Linked DNA regions of Homo sapiens: all the other regions are linked to region 3. The links are contacts of gene promoters, found by promoter capture Hi-C in blood cells and fetal thymus (Javierre and others, 2016). All regions are on one chromosome and are shown on one strand. The core of a region is centred on a gene start or on the middle of the fragment in contact, and the rest is flanking DNA. Distances in the headings are between cores, read along the strand shown.

What was found. Contacts are between HindIII fragments. The CHiCAGO score rates a contact against its expected background, and 5 or more counts as called.
Region 1: a fragment that was not itself captured here is called in contact with the fragment with the promoter of KBTBD11 in region 3 in 1 of 17 cell types (monocytes); the score reaches 5.4 in monocytes.
Region 2: a fragment that was not itself captured here is called in contact with the fragment with the promoter of KBTBD11 in region 3 in 1 of 17 cell types (neutrophils); the score reaches 5.1 in neutrophils.

The regions. Positions count from the first base shown.
Region 1 is chr8:1,896,025-1,900,623 of GRCh38, reverse strand. It overlaps ARHGEF10 (Rho guanine nucleotide exchange factor 10), which reads right to left. Exons shown (of 29, transcript NM_014629.4): 14 at 4,175-4,291; 15 at 2,099-2,191. Among named protein-coding and RNA genes, the nearest start is that of KBTBD11-OT1, 73 kb to the left of the region's middle. RefSeq lists a silencer at 2,927-3,221. The HindIII fragment of the contact is 2,444 bases long and covers 1,671-4,114 here.
Region 2 is chr8:1,873,993-1,878,417 of GRCh38, reverse strand. It overlaps ARHGEF10 (Rho guanine nucleotide exchange factor 10), which reads right to left. Exons shown (of 29, transcript NM_014629.4): 8 at 1,684-1,847. Among named protein-coding and RNA genes, the nearest start is that of ARHGEF10, 52 kb to the right of the region's middle. RefSeq lists an enhancer at 4,328-4,425. The HindIII fragment of the contact is 252 bases long and covers 1,225-1,476 here.
Region 3 is chr8:1,971,899-1,976,496 of GRCh38, reverse strand. KBTBD11 (kelch repeat and BTB domain containing 11) reads right to left here and starts at 2,820. Exons shown (of 2, transcript NM_014867.3): 1 at 2,562-2,820. KBTBD11-AS1 (KBTBD11 antisense RNA 1) reads left to right here and starts at 3,152. Exons shown (of 3, transcript NR_136275.1): 1 at 3,152-3,349; 2 at 3,834-3,957; 3 at 4,140-4,598. It overlaps KBTBD11-OT1 (KBTBD11 overlapping transcript 1), which reads right to left. Exons shown (of 3, transcript NR_126346.1): 2 at 4,460-4,572; 3 at 53-598. The HindIII fragment of the contact is 3,527 bases long and covers 804-4,330 here.

The DNA of each region.
Region 1 (4,599 bases), core at 1,643-4,142, 76 kb after region 3:
ACAGATTTGTAAACGGCGCAGTGTGTAACAGGCAGGCCATGCCCGTCCGACAGCGCACGTCTGCAGTGTTCCATCTGCTGCTTTTCCCAAAGTCCTGGCTGGCATCCTTTTGGGGTGTGGACAGTGTACTAGATTTGTGGCTAGACAACTGTGTTAGAATCCCAGCACATCTGTCGGGCTGTGTCACCATGGGAGAATCATCAGCTTCCCTAAACCTCAGTTTCCTAGAGCGTAACTCAGTTTCCTAGCGCATAAAAAAGGGACAACGACCTCCCCAGGACGGCTGAAGGTGGATGGAAACGTGGGAGCTGCTCGGGCTCCTCAAAATCCCGGTAGAGGCTTTTCCCTGCGGTTCTCTGTCCTGTTCCGTTTCCAGCAGCCCGCCCACCCCTTCTGTCTAAAAGAATGTATTTCGGAAAAAACCTAGGCAAAAATAGTTACTTACTTACTTACTTGTAGTTACTTACTTACATTTAACCAAAACCTAACAAGCTTGTTTGAAAATTATATCCAAATTTAATAAATTTAAAAAATTTAGAAAGTATTCTGATAAATCATAGAAAGCCAACAACGTGTGTGACCTCACAACACAGTCAGCACTTGCTGTCGTCCCTGGCGACCAAGAACGACCCAGGGACTCACTGGCGCATCGCTAAACACAGGGCATGTGGGCTGGTTCACCCGCCCGTATGGTTCACAGCCTGGTGACACTCTCCCAGCTGTGGCTGAATAACTAATGTCTAACAGGCGGCCTGACCCCCTTCCTCCCAAGCGCCAGACTCCCTCACACGAGGAAGCTCATTCATCACGTCTGTGGCTGCTTGCCGGAAGCCAACAGCGTCTCGCACGTATTAGAACTCAGTACATATTTGTCAGCTAAAGAAATAAAACACACTTTGAATATTTTGATCTTGGGAAAAAACAGCTTTTGTTATTAATGCTGTAATACAGGCAAACTGCACATTGTTAAAAATATAAGCCAGAGGATAAAATTAACATGAGCCATCAACCTAACCATGGAAAGAGCCCATGTCGATATTTTAGTATGTATCCTTTTTCATACTTTGATGACTACATTTATTTAAAAAGAATGTGCCATGGATTTGGTTGGTCAAAAATAAAAATAACCTCAATGGAAGGGGACTTCACACTATTTCCCAGGCGCCAGTTCATTTCTGGCGATGACTCCACCAGTTCATCTTAATCGGCTCTAATAAGCAGGCAGTCCAAGCAAAGTCCTCTGATTTAATTAGAAAAAGCAAGCTGAGCAATCATTGAAAAATCAACACAGGCAGAAACCAGCATAGACTCTCCTTTGAAATATCCTCCCTGGAGGCATGGCATTCATTTAAATAAAATGGGTGCTGAGCCCCGCAGCCTACAGGGTCACCTGGGCTCCAGGTTATGTGGGAAGGTCGGAAAACGAGCGGGCAACCACACACTGCATCAGACGTGACCTAGAGGCCGTCCGCTGTGAGACGTCACGTCAGCACTCAGAACAGGCCTACTGTTCACAGCCACAGGTATCCAATTGAGAATCCTTAGTTTAGAGAAATGAGGGTCCAGTGGACAGTGTTTTCACCATCGCAGCATCTCCCTGTCCTCGGTGATTTGCTGTTAAATCAGTGATGGGTATGTTTTGTTTAAATCTATTCTTAGCTTTCCAAGCTTGTCCATCCCCTCTGGGCACAGAGGCGAGAATCATTTTTCATGTGATCCTAGACCAGACACAGACACACTGGAGAAGGGAGCTGTGACCTGTGGGCCACTGATAACCAAGCCCCGCGGCCCCCCAGTGCTGGGGCCCTGTGAGAGCACGTGAGGCAGGCCAGGGCCCACAACACCCCTCCCCGCAGCCCATCCCCTCTGTCCCCCAAGGCTGGCCTCGCAGGCACTGGGCCCTACAGCTGCCCCCGGCGTAGGGTGACTCTCCGCAGGTCTCCACCTGCCTCTACCCTCCACCTCCTGTAACTGCCTAGAGAGGAGATGAGGAGGCCCGAGGGGCAGCCATTCCAAAGTGGAGGAACAGACGCCATTTTCAAATGAGTCATGGGCGAGCCAGAGGACTAGCTTGAGGAGGTCTCCGTGAAGCACTTACCTGGAGCAGGAGGATGAACTGTGGGAACCTCTGGATGGGCTTCATCATCAGGCTGTAGAGCGTGGTTCGATCGGGGCTGGCCTCCTGTTCCTGCTGTGGGGGAAGGCACCGGGGTCACCTCCCTGCAGGGCTGCCATGCCCTCCCTGCCCCTGGGGCCGCCTCCTCCCCACCACACTGAACACTCGGGAAAGTCAAAAGCCTGCACCTTGTCTTCAGCTACAAGAAGAAACTTGGCCAAATACCTTCCAGCCACTTTCTGCACCTGCTCTAGGGGCTTCCGCTTTGCTGCAGGGGCCCGACCTCACACGTTGGCCTCAGCTCCAGGGGTGAATTCCCCGGGCCAGGGGACTGGGCAGATTCCAGGGGCTGTCCTTGGGTGTCTGTGTTCTGGCCATAGTGGGCCCCCAGAAAAGGCTGGCAACCTCTTCCGGTGCCATGGGCAGAAAGACGTCCTGGAGGCTGACGGCTCCTCTCCCTGAGCACATCAGGGATGTGCAGTGGGGCCATTTGCTACCAAGGCTGTTGGGCAATGTTGACCTGGGGGGAGTCTCCAGGTCCCTCTGCTGAGGGGGCTGTGCAGTGGAGAGGGCAGACAGCACAGACCTGGCTGTGCCTCGGCCTCTCAGCTCACAGGGCACCCGACTCTTTGGGGCTCAGGTCCTGGAGCAATGAAATGGGATGAGAGAGTCTATCTCCCAAGGCCACGTGGCAGCCACCGAGCTGAGGAGTGGGCACTGCGGTCACGGCCACGGCTGGCATCCTTAATGGGAGTACAGCAAAATCCCCAGAGGGAGTGAGCTCTTAAGTGAGTCCATGTTTTCTTTCCCCAAAAGAAAGAGATGGTTCCCTAGCCAAAGGACAGAGGCCACAACTGTCCACAGTGGGAACTGCAATCCGATGCCTTAGGACAGAGCCCACAACTGTCGAGAGTGGGAACTGCGATCCGATGCCTTAGGACAGAGCCCACAGCTGTCCAGAGGGGGAACTGCGATCCGATGCCTTAGGACAGAGCCCACAGCTGTCCAGAGGGGGAACTGCGATCCGATCCCTTAGGACAGAGCCCACAACTGTCGAGAGTGGGAACTGCGATCCGATCCCTTAGGACAGAGCCCACAGCTGTCCAGAGGGGGAACTGCGATCCGATCCCTTAGGACAGAGCTCACAGCTGTCCAGAGTGGGAACTGCGATCCGATCCCTTAGCAAACCTCCATGGGCCACAGACTGTGCTCCAGGAGGAGCAGGAGCCGCCGTGCTGGATAAGGCAGAGGGAAAAAATTCCAGCTTCAATGACACGTTGCTGTGGGCGAGAATACTTGCCCTGTGTTCACTCGCTCCAGGTAGCAGCAGTTTCCAAGAAACAGTCCAAGTAACAAGAACACACTTTGTCCCCGGGGTTTATCATGCAAATGAGGGGCTCCACAAAGGAGACTCAGTTCCGCCGACGTCTTTGAAGGGGGTTTCAGCTTGGTTCATTGTGCAGCAAACTGTCAGAACACAGCCTCGGACACGCATCCCACGACTGGGGAAGCCCTGCCTGCCTGCTGATTAAATAACGCTAACCCACACCCATCAGGGGACGTGCTCCCCATCACTGCCAGGTCAGAGACCCCTGAGGAAGGCCATCAGTGCTGTCCTCAGCATTGGGAGGAACACAGCCTGCGTCCCCCTCGGGTAGGGCCCGCTCCAGGCTCTGACTCTCCAGGCCGGTGCCTCTCCCCGATCCCAAAGAGGCCTGGAATTGAGATGTTTAGTTTATTTGATTCCTAATACCATACCGAAGGACAGTGAGGGAAAGGTAACTTTGGGATCTGATCTTGACTTCTTTTTTGGGGATCTGATTTTAACTTTCTTTCTGTCTGTCTGCTGATACACTTTTAAGAAGGTGCAAATAAAATTGTTTTCAAAAAGCTACATTAGGACCTAAAATTCATCTTCATTTCTAGCATTAATCCAATATCTAGGGCACTATTGATACTGAAATCTTAATAACGAATAACTGCATTCAGAGTCAAGCTTTGACATGTAACTTGTTATCAGATGGTGTTAAAACCCAAATGAAAAAAAAAAGCGCTTACCTTTAAAAATTCAAGAAAAGCGGGCTTTGTGGCACATGTTTTCTTGAGGACTGCCACGGCTGTGCTGAAATTGTTCACATATTCACTGTATGCATCCAGCACCATGGACTTAGAAAACTGAAACACAGGAGGAAATTCAGAGAGAAATCACAGAGTCCAGATATCCCTTTTCCAACATAAAACAGAAGATTTGAAACTCGCCCTCAAAATACTCTTTCGGTCACTGTGATGTTTTCATAAGATAAACTTTATTATGACTGTGTGATTTTTTTTCTTTAAGCAAGCGTGTTAGGAGTTAAGTTGCTGGTTTGACCTTATTTTTTGACTCCAGAGCACTTTCTGACATCCTTGTTCAAAACCATGGTAATTTGGGTTTCAGTTAAGAATGTTCATGACTACAGACAAATAAGGATGGTGATTTTAAG
Region 2 (4,425 bases), core at 101-2,600, 97 kb after region 3:
GTCAGGAGTTCGAGACCAGCCTGGCCAATATGGTGAAACCCCGTCTCTACTAAAAATACAAAAATTAGCTGGTAGTGGAAGGTGCCTATAATCCCAGCTACTTGAGAGGCTGAGGCAGGAGAATTACTTGAATCTGGGAAGTGGAGGTTGCAGTGAGCCGAGATCACGCCATTGTACTTCAGCCTGAGCGACAGGCAAGACTCCATTTCAAAGAAAAAAAAAACCCGAAAAACTACAATTGCAGCTTCATCGGTTGTTTAAATCGCAGTTGTAATGATGACGGTGGCAGAAAAGATCTAATTCCTGGAAGAACTTGTGAATGAAACTGGGTAGGTGAGCTGACTGCCAAGATCTAGTAGATTCTCCTTGAGTTTCACGAGCCAGGTTCACAGAATATGAGAATTGTAGGCAGCCCATAATCACTTGTAAACCATAGGGACGTGGCAGCTAGGTCCAGGAATGAAATCTCCGCTTACTGGGGGTTACTAGGGGACCGGAGGGATAACACCGGTTATCGACAACTGTCACTATGGCGGGCATCCGTTCACCATCTCTATCAGTAACACGGGACTCGCCAGCCTCAGACAAGGACTGCGTGTGGCTTCCATCTCAGCCTCACACAGAAAGTACACAGACATCACTGTAGATGAGCACAAATCTATCCTTTTACAAACAGTCAAAAAAAACTCTAACAAAACACCGGTGGCACGGCCTGGCACCACCGAGACCTGGGAGGTGCCTCAGCTGAATGGTTCCTGGGTTCCATGACTCACAACCACCCAATTCCAGAATTCACGCCTTACAGCTCTGACATCCCACCTCACACCCTAATCTCAAGACTTTTCCACAAAAAAAGTAAAATAAAAATTCCCTGTAAGAAAGGATCATCCGGCTGGGTGTGGTGGTTCACACCTGCAATCCCAGCACTTTGGGAGGCCGAGGTGGGCAGATCACCTGAGGTCAGGGATTCGAGACTAGCCTGGCCAACATAGGGAAACCCCATCTCTAATAAAAATACGAAAATTAGCTAGGAGTCATGGCAGGCACCTGTAATCCCAGCTACTTGGGAGGCTGAGGCAAGAGAATGGCTTAAACCTGGGAGGCAGAGATTGCAGTGAGCTGAGATTGCGCCATTGCACTCCAGCCTGGGAGACAGAACGAGACTCCATCTCAAAAAAAAGAAAAAGAAAAAAGAAAGGATTGTCACAGGTCAGTTTAGAAGCTTTTGTCCCTTAACATCTTCTATTTTTACGTCTTCCTTTTCATGCTGAACATGCTAAAGTTGAAACCTCACTTAAAGCAAAGTGCAGATGTGCTGTGTCTTAGGGAACCCCGATCCCATCTATTCAGTGTTCCGCAAACGGTGCTACGTGCAAAGCACATAATACATTAAAACACAAGCAATTCAGAGAATAACTACTTTCTTATTCAAGGTGGTGAGCTCATTTAAGACCTTTTAAGTGGATTATAGAAGCTTAATTTCTCCATCTTTCCATGACGATACTTAACTATATGAAACAAGACACGTCTTCTCCTTTGCCAATATCTTATGCTTTCCCCAAACTACTTATCAGCATCTTAACAAATCACTATGAAGTACTAGGTGGATCACAATCATATTCACAGCCCCCTGTCCGTGTTAACGCGAGAGAACCATCCCTCACATGTGCAGGGAACACGTACTTGCTTTTTGTGGTTGCTGCGCAGGAAGGACCTGGGAATCCCATTCTTGCACTCCGAGTCACTCTGCTCTTCGTAACTTTCAAATTCACTCGAACTCCATCCGTATTCCAAGGAGCTGTTTCCACCTTCATCCCCATTCTCAACATCATCATAAATCATTTCATCTGAGTGCATAAATTCCAAAATGAAATTAAAACTTTAGAATTCCATGTGGGCTGTTTTGTGCCTGTTTGTGGTTTTACCAAATCATCTAGAGCTGGGGGTGGAAGGAAATCTGAATCATGCTGAGGACCCTGCGGAGCCCCGGGCTTGCTCCATGGAAGGCACCGTGCAGCGCCTCCACCACCCGGGCAGGGCCGGGGAGGCTGGGGAAAAGCACTTCAGGTGTTTCTCACAAGTGCCCCTGCCCCATCTGTACCCCGAGGACCACCTGGCTATGGGCATCCGCCACAGTCATGCCAGGTAACTTGTCAGCCTTAGAGAACTTCACAAGAAGAAAAATCTTCCTTTATATAAACTTACAGGATGTTTTGAAAATTAGACAGAGAGAAATGGTGGACAGATGATAGGCATGTCGATGGACGGTGGATTATAGAAATATGGGTAGGTGGATGGATAGGTGGATGATACAGATATTCAAGTACCAGCACTAGCAAGAAAATACACACGGATTTTTAAATTTTCAATGCTGTGACACTAACAAGACTTTTAGAGAATGAAAATGACATTCTTCAAACTCCCAGAATATGAGTGTCTCTCTAACTCTTTTATCAGTCACACAAGCATAAATGTTTCTTTATTTTACCTGGTTTCTTAGATACAAATAATCTCCATGCCTTAAAAATATTAAATTTATTCTTTATGCATCCACAGTCATTCACTGTAACAAAACTTGGCCTTAAAAATCCTTAGTAATTAAGCACTGAGGAATATACACATCTCAGCACATAAGTAACATTCAAAGCCAACACTTGCTTTCACTGGAAATGCAAAATTAGACATGAACTTGTCACTTACAATCCTTAGATATTTCAAATTACCCTATCCTTGTAATATTTCTCCACTGACTACAAAACAGGTCCTCCAAATGTCTGATTAAAAGTTCTGGCAGGTCAACAGCAGCCTGGCAAAGCCATAAAATGCGTGAAATGAGCTCACTTTGCAGAAGCTGCAGTGTGTTCTGTGTGCCACGGACAATGATCACCACCCGGGCACCCAGCAGTCTCAGCAACTCAGCTCAGCGGATGAATGGGTCAAGTCCTTGCACAATTGCCTGAAATTTGGGGCTGGGCATCATCCTGAGAGCTCACCCACATGCCCAAGAGCCAAGAGTCATCCTGAGAGCCTACCCACGTGCCCAAGAGCGGAGGGTCTACAGCCTCTACCATGTACTAGGGGACTCAGAGAAAAGCACCCCTACGCTCCCCAGTGTGTGTCTCCACTGTTCCTCCAGCCTGTCTTAGAACCTCCACCCCCTACACGCCCTGGTGTGTGTCTGCACTCTCCCACCAGACTGTCTTAGAACCTCTATCCCCGACACAGCCCCGTGTGTGTCTGCACTCTCCCACCAGACTGTCTTAGAACCTGTACCCCCTACACGGCCCCGGGTGTGTCTGCACTCTCCCACCAGACTGTCTTAGAACCTCTACCCCCTACACGCCGTGGTGTGTGTCTCCACTGTTCCTCCAGCCTGTCTTAGAACCTCTACCCCCTACACGCCCTGGTGTGTGTCTGCACTCTCCCACCAGACTGTCTTAGAACCTCTATCCCCGACACAGCCCCGTGTGTGTCTGCACTCTCCCACCAGACTGTCTTAGAACCTGTACCCCCTACACGGCCCCGGGTGTGTCTGCACTCTCCCACCAGACTGTCTTAGAACCTCTACCCCCTACACGCCGTGGTGTGTGTCTCCACTGTTCCTCCAGCCTGTCTTAGAACCTCTACCCCCTACACGCCCTGGTGTGTGTCTCCACTGTTCCTCCAGCCTGTCTTAGAACCTCCACTGCTTACACACCCCGGTGTGTGTCTGCACTCTCCCTCCAGACTGTCTTAGAACCTCTACCCCCTACACACCCTGGTGTGTGTCTGCACTGTTCCTCCAGCCTGTCTTAGAACCTCCACCCGCTACACACCCCGGTATGTATCTGGACTGTCCCTCCAGAGGTTATAAGGAAACTCCATCCCCTATTTCCTCGCATCCATCTCTGGACTTCCAACTTTTCTGGTCCATACAAAACAAGTCTACACAGACATGGTTTTCACACATGTTACCTTTTTCACCTCAATTAGATTTTCAGCCCTTTGAGAGCTGGAGCTGCATTTTCTGTATTCCGCACAGCAGTTGGCAAGAGTCTAATCAATCAATCCAGCTCTCTCAATGCCTTGTTAAGGCTCCTGGGACCCAGCCACAGGATCAGGCACGTTTGGACGCCTTTACTTAGGTCTGTTAGAACTCAGGCTATTCAGATGTGTGAAAAACGGGTGGTTTTCAATGTTTTAGAAACGCAATTGCTGTTGTGACCCCCAGCAAACACGGAACTTCCAAGGACTTTGAAGGGTCTTGCTAACCATCAATTCAGTGAATTACTCACTTCCTCTTGAATGCCTGGGCTGGCAGATTTGTGGTTCTAAAATTGAACGTTAAATCCAGTCACCCTGGCATGTGTTTTCTGACCAAGCCAGTGACCAGGCAGCGCCATCGACTTATTGTCCTCGATGACAATCTTGTCGTTGGCCCTTAGC
Region 3 (4,598 bases), core at 1,571-4,070:
ACATAAGACATGCAACGGTTTCTATTTCCAAGACAACATTTATTTCAAAATCATTTCTAGCAGGAACCTGGCTGTTGGCAAAAAGTAAACTAGATGCTTTAATTTATTCTTAAAGTTTTTGCTCATTGTTAAATACTTTGCAAACATGTGCTGGATACCAACACTATACTTTTAGCTTAATTACAATGATTTCAAGAGGAAAAAAAAAACAAACTCAAGACCACAATTGACACGATGAGCCCTTGACCTCCGGAGAAGGGCAGATATCGCCCTGAGTCACCAAGGGAACACATGCTGAATGACAGGCTGATTTGTGATCAGGAAACCCGCTGTTCTCCGGGCCCTTCTCAAGCCCACTCAGACACCAGTCCTCCTTGATCACAGCCTTGGATGCAAGGAGGCTTAGAGGCACTGCAGCTGCCTAAGTGATTCCAGATTTGCAGGAGAGCTATTATTACTGAGCAATCTGTGCTCTTGGTATTTAGAAAACAACTGAAACATGTGCCCAGATGGAGGCGTCCACAGCACGGAGAGTCTCTCTGTATCAGCACAGGGACAAAGACGGGACCTGCTGGGCTCCCACTGCCAAGGTTGCTACCTGTACCGGAACATATGGAAACCCCATTGAAGCGGGTTTGTATTGGAGTTTACAAATGATGCGATAAGCTCCAAACCACCTTTCCGGATTCTTCCATCCACCCAGAGCAAGGTGCTCTGAGGTTCAAGTTAGGCCCAGACATCAGTCAACACAGAGTCCTGCTCCCTGGGAATTTCTTTAGTCTCAGAGCCACAACATTTAAGCTTTCTCCCCTCCTCCCAAGCCCAATGCTGGCTTAAATACAGTCACGAATGGTTCAGATGCAGACAGGTTCTGAGAAATGATAGTTAGATAACTTCATCACTGTGCAAACATCACACAGGGCACCTACACACCTAGGCGGTGCAGCCTGCTACACACCTGTGCTCCACTGCACAGACTCCTGCTCCAGACTGCACACCTGTGCAGCGTGCACAATACCGCAGGCAATTGTAACACAATGGTGTTTGTGTATCTACACATTTCTAAGCATGAAAAAGACACAGGGAAAACAGTTTTATAATCTTACAGGACCACCGTCAACTTGGCGGTCTGTAATTGATCCGAACGTGGCTGTGCTACACATCACTATAATGTAAGCAACATCTTTTAACTGATTTTATTATGTGCTGTCCAATGCTATGGCCAGCAATGCCTGTGCAACTGACATGGAAAGTTCAAAGGCTTTACCTCATTACAATTTTTACTTAGTTATGCCCTGATGGGAGCATTGCAATGCCAGTTACCATAAATCTGCACACACGAGGTTGTTGCTGGAGCAAATCTGAAGGCAATGGAACGCTCCCTTCCGTGATGTCAGGAATGGGGAGGATTATTCTAATAATAGCACACTATTAGCTCAGGATAAAAGGCTGAAGGGTTCCATTGACATCCATTAAGGGGTCCTAATTGGAGCCTGAGTAACTGCTCCTTAGTGGGAAATGGAGGCGGGAACCGCGGGGAATCGGGCGAACTTCTCACTCAGGGCCTGAGGGGATGGCTGGAACTTTAAAATCTGACGGCGGCGCCTTTCGTGGGCTGAGTAGAATAAAGCTCGCTGCACTGATTTGTTCCTTTTCTTTTCCTTAGAATAGACACTGGAGTGGGTGGAGGGGGAAACGTGGTTTTGTAGGACTCTAAAGAGGTGGAGGGACTTTGGTTCACCCTCTTTTCATGCTCCAGAATGAGCCCCGCCTGAGAGGAGGGACCCCTGCGGAATCCCGCCCAGACCGCCCGGGGGTCTCCCCAGCACATGGGGCGGGGGCTGCAAGGGGCGCCCGGCAGGACTCGGGAGCCGCGGCGCGGTGGGGCGGGTGGGTCGCGGTGCTCGGGGCTCGCGGGGGTCAGCAGCCAGGACACCCCCGCACCCCGGGCGCAGCGGCGGAGGACCAAGGGCCGCGCTCCCCTCCCCAGGGCCCCGAGTCCAGGAGAGACCCCCGTTCGCTCCGGACAGCCGATCCCCGCGACCGCCGAGAGCCAAGCGGAGCAACCCCGGGAGGAGCCCCCGCCCTGGCCCCGCGCGCTTGGCTTCGGCTTCTGCTCCTGCTTCCGTGCCGGCTGGGGCGGCGGGACCCTCGGCGGGGGCGGTGACTGCGGGCGCGGCGCGGGCGGCTCATTGTCTTCCGGCCGGGGTTGCCGCGTCCCGGGGGAGGGCCTGTGGAGACCCCGCGAGGAGGCCCCCACGCCCCCCACGCGGCCTCCCGGAGGCGGAGCGGAGACCACCCACCGCCGCCCACCCCGCCGCGGGCAGCGCTGCCCCCTCCTCTCCCGGTCCCCCCTCCCCTCCCCTCCGCTCCGCTCCCCTCCCTCCCCTGCCGGCCTCCCCTCCCCGCCTCTCCCCTGCCGGCCTCCCCTTTTCTCCCCTCCCGCCTACTGCCGCTCTCGCCGACCACCTCCCACCCGCCGCCCCCTCCGACCCGCGCCTCGGGCTGCTTCCCGCTCCGCCCGCCAGGCCCCGCCGCTGCCTCCCCGGGGTCCGCCCTACCTCGCCGCGGCTCCTCTTCAGCCGCCGGGCCCGGGACGCGCAGCCAGGCGGGTGGGCTCCGGCGCATGCGCGCGGCCGCTTCCCGGCACCTGTGGGAGCCGCGGCCCGGCCTCTCCGAGCACCTGCGAGCGGGAGCTGCTCCTCCGACCCGCAGCGGGGCGTGGGCGGCAGAGGGGGCGGTGGACAGGCCTCTCCGCCTCTCCAGGCCGCGCGGAGCCAGCGCTCCGGCTCCAGGCTGCGAGGGGCGCGCGCGGGGCGCGGGGAGGGGGGCGGGCGCGTGCACACGGGGCGTTTTCGGGCGCGCGCCCCCTGGCTGGGTCTGCGGAGGGGCTGTGGGTTCCCCGGGGCTTCCCTGCCCCGCGCCTGCCCGCCGGGCGCTTCTCCCCCTCCAGGACCGCGGCCCACGTCGCCACTCGAGCCCGAGCCCGAGCCCGCGCCCACGCGCGGGGGCCGCTTCCTGCGAGGAGGCGGGGACAGGTGTCCGCGGGCGCAAACAGCGGAGTTTCGTGCGCCTATTTTTTGGTAAAAGTAGAGGCGATGCGTTGTTGACATATTTAGTGGTTAAAAACTTATTGCCAAATTCTCAACAGATTCCAGAATTTTTTAAAGTTCACAACACGAGAGTGGACGAAATGTCGGAGCTTTTGCTCATATCCAGAAATGTGGCCTCTGCCTCCCACTCGGGCCCTGCGGTGCAGACGGGTTCAGGGCGGCGAGGACTGAGCCAGGAGCGCCGAGAGTTCCAGCTGCTCCCAGGCTGGGTTCTAATTAACGCTGGACCCCTGCTGGTAAATGCTATTTTTAATGGCTTTGTGCAAATTAATGACGATGAGATTTCCATAAGTACCGAGAGCCAGAGCCTTTACTTTCTCTTTTTGTGTTCTTTTTGCTTGTGACAGTCTTTGCCAGTTCCATGCTGTATACACATAATGAGCCGTTACAACTCCAGCACCAAAGCTAACGCCCCGGGAACATCTTTAAAACCTTTTTCACTCTGTTGCCAAGAAGAGTAGTACCTGCTGTCAGTACTTGAATTACAGGAGGCTGAAACTCAGCGAGCTACTGGGATTTTTTGAAAATTGAAAACTTCCGTTAACTATAGCAGAAACAGACCCTTTTGGTGGAAGCTAAAATAATTCCCATGCTGCTCCGTTTTTATTTTGTTCAGTTTACTCCAAAAATGTTCCAAACTCTACTGTGATCTTCTTAGTGCATCTCTACTTCCTTTCGGCTGCAGAATAATACTTCTTTTTCTCTTTTGTTTTTTTTTAGAGATGGAGTCTCACTCTGTCGCCCAGGCTGGAATGCAGTGGTGCAATCTCGGCTCACTGCGATCTCTGCGTCCTGGGTTCAAGCAATTCTCCTGCCTCAGCCTCCCAAGTAGCTGTGACTACAGGCATGCACCACCACACCCAGCTAAATTTTGTATTTTTAGTAGAGACAGGGTTTCACTGTACATTGGCCAGGCTGGTCTCGATCTCCTGACCTCAAGTGATCCACCTGTCTTGGCCTCCCAAAGTGCTGGGATTACAGGCATGAGCCACCGCGCCTGGCCTAACTACCCCCATTCTTTTCCAGAGAAACGTGAACAGGCCAAACAAAGCCTCACCTGGCTATCCCGCCACCCTGGGGTTGGGCCTCCAAAGGCCCGGGAGGTCACCTAAGACACGGTGTTCTGAACATGCAAGCCCGACAGCATCTTCTCTACCATTCTGCCAGAGTCCAGAGACCTGGGAATAGGTCATACCCCCCACTGCATTTTACAAGCTTGGCATACATTAGGTTCTCAATAAATACTGAATTAATGAAAAAATTGCTGAAGTAACTGAAAACATCCATCCAAACCCCACACCATCTGGTAGATAAGTAGTCTGTGGGGAGTCCCATATTTTTCTTACCTTAGATATTTATTTGGAAATGGACTGTAGGCCCAATATGGTCAATGAAACTTGCAGAGGAACATTTCATGCCTTTAATTAGTTCTTCATAACTGCAGGGACCTCTAGAGTTCCTGAAATTGAACTGGGTTGTAATACT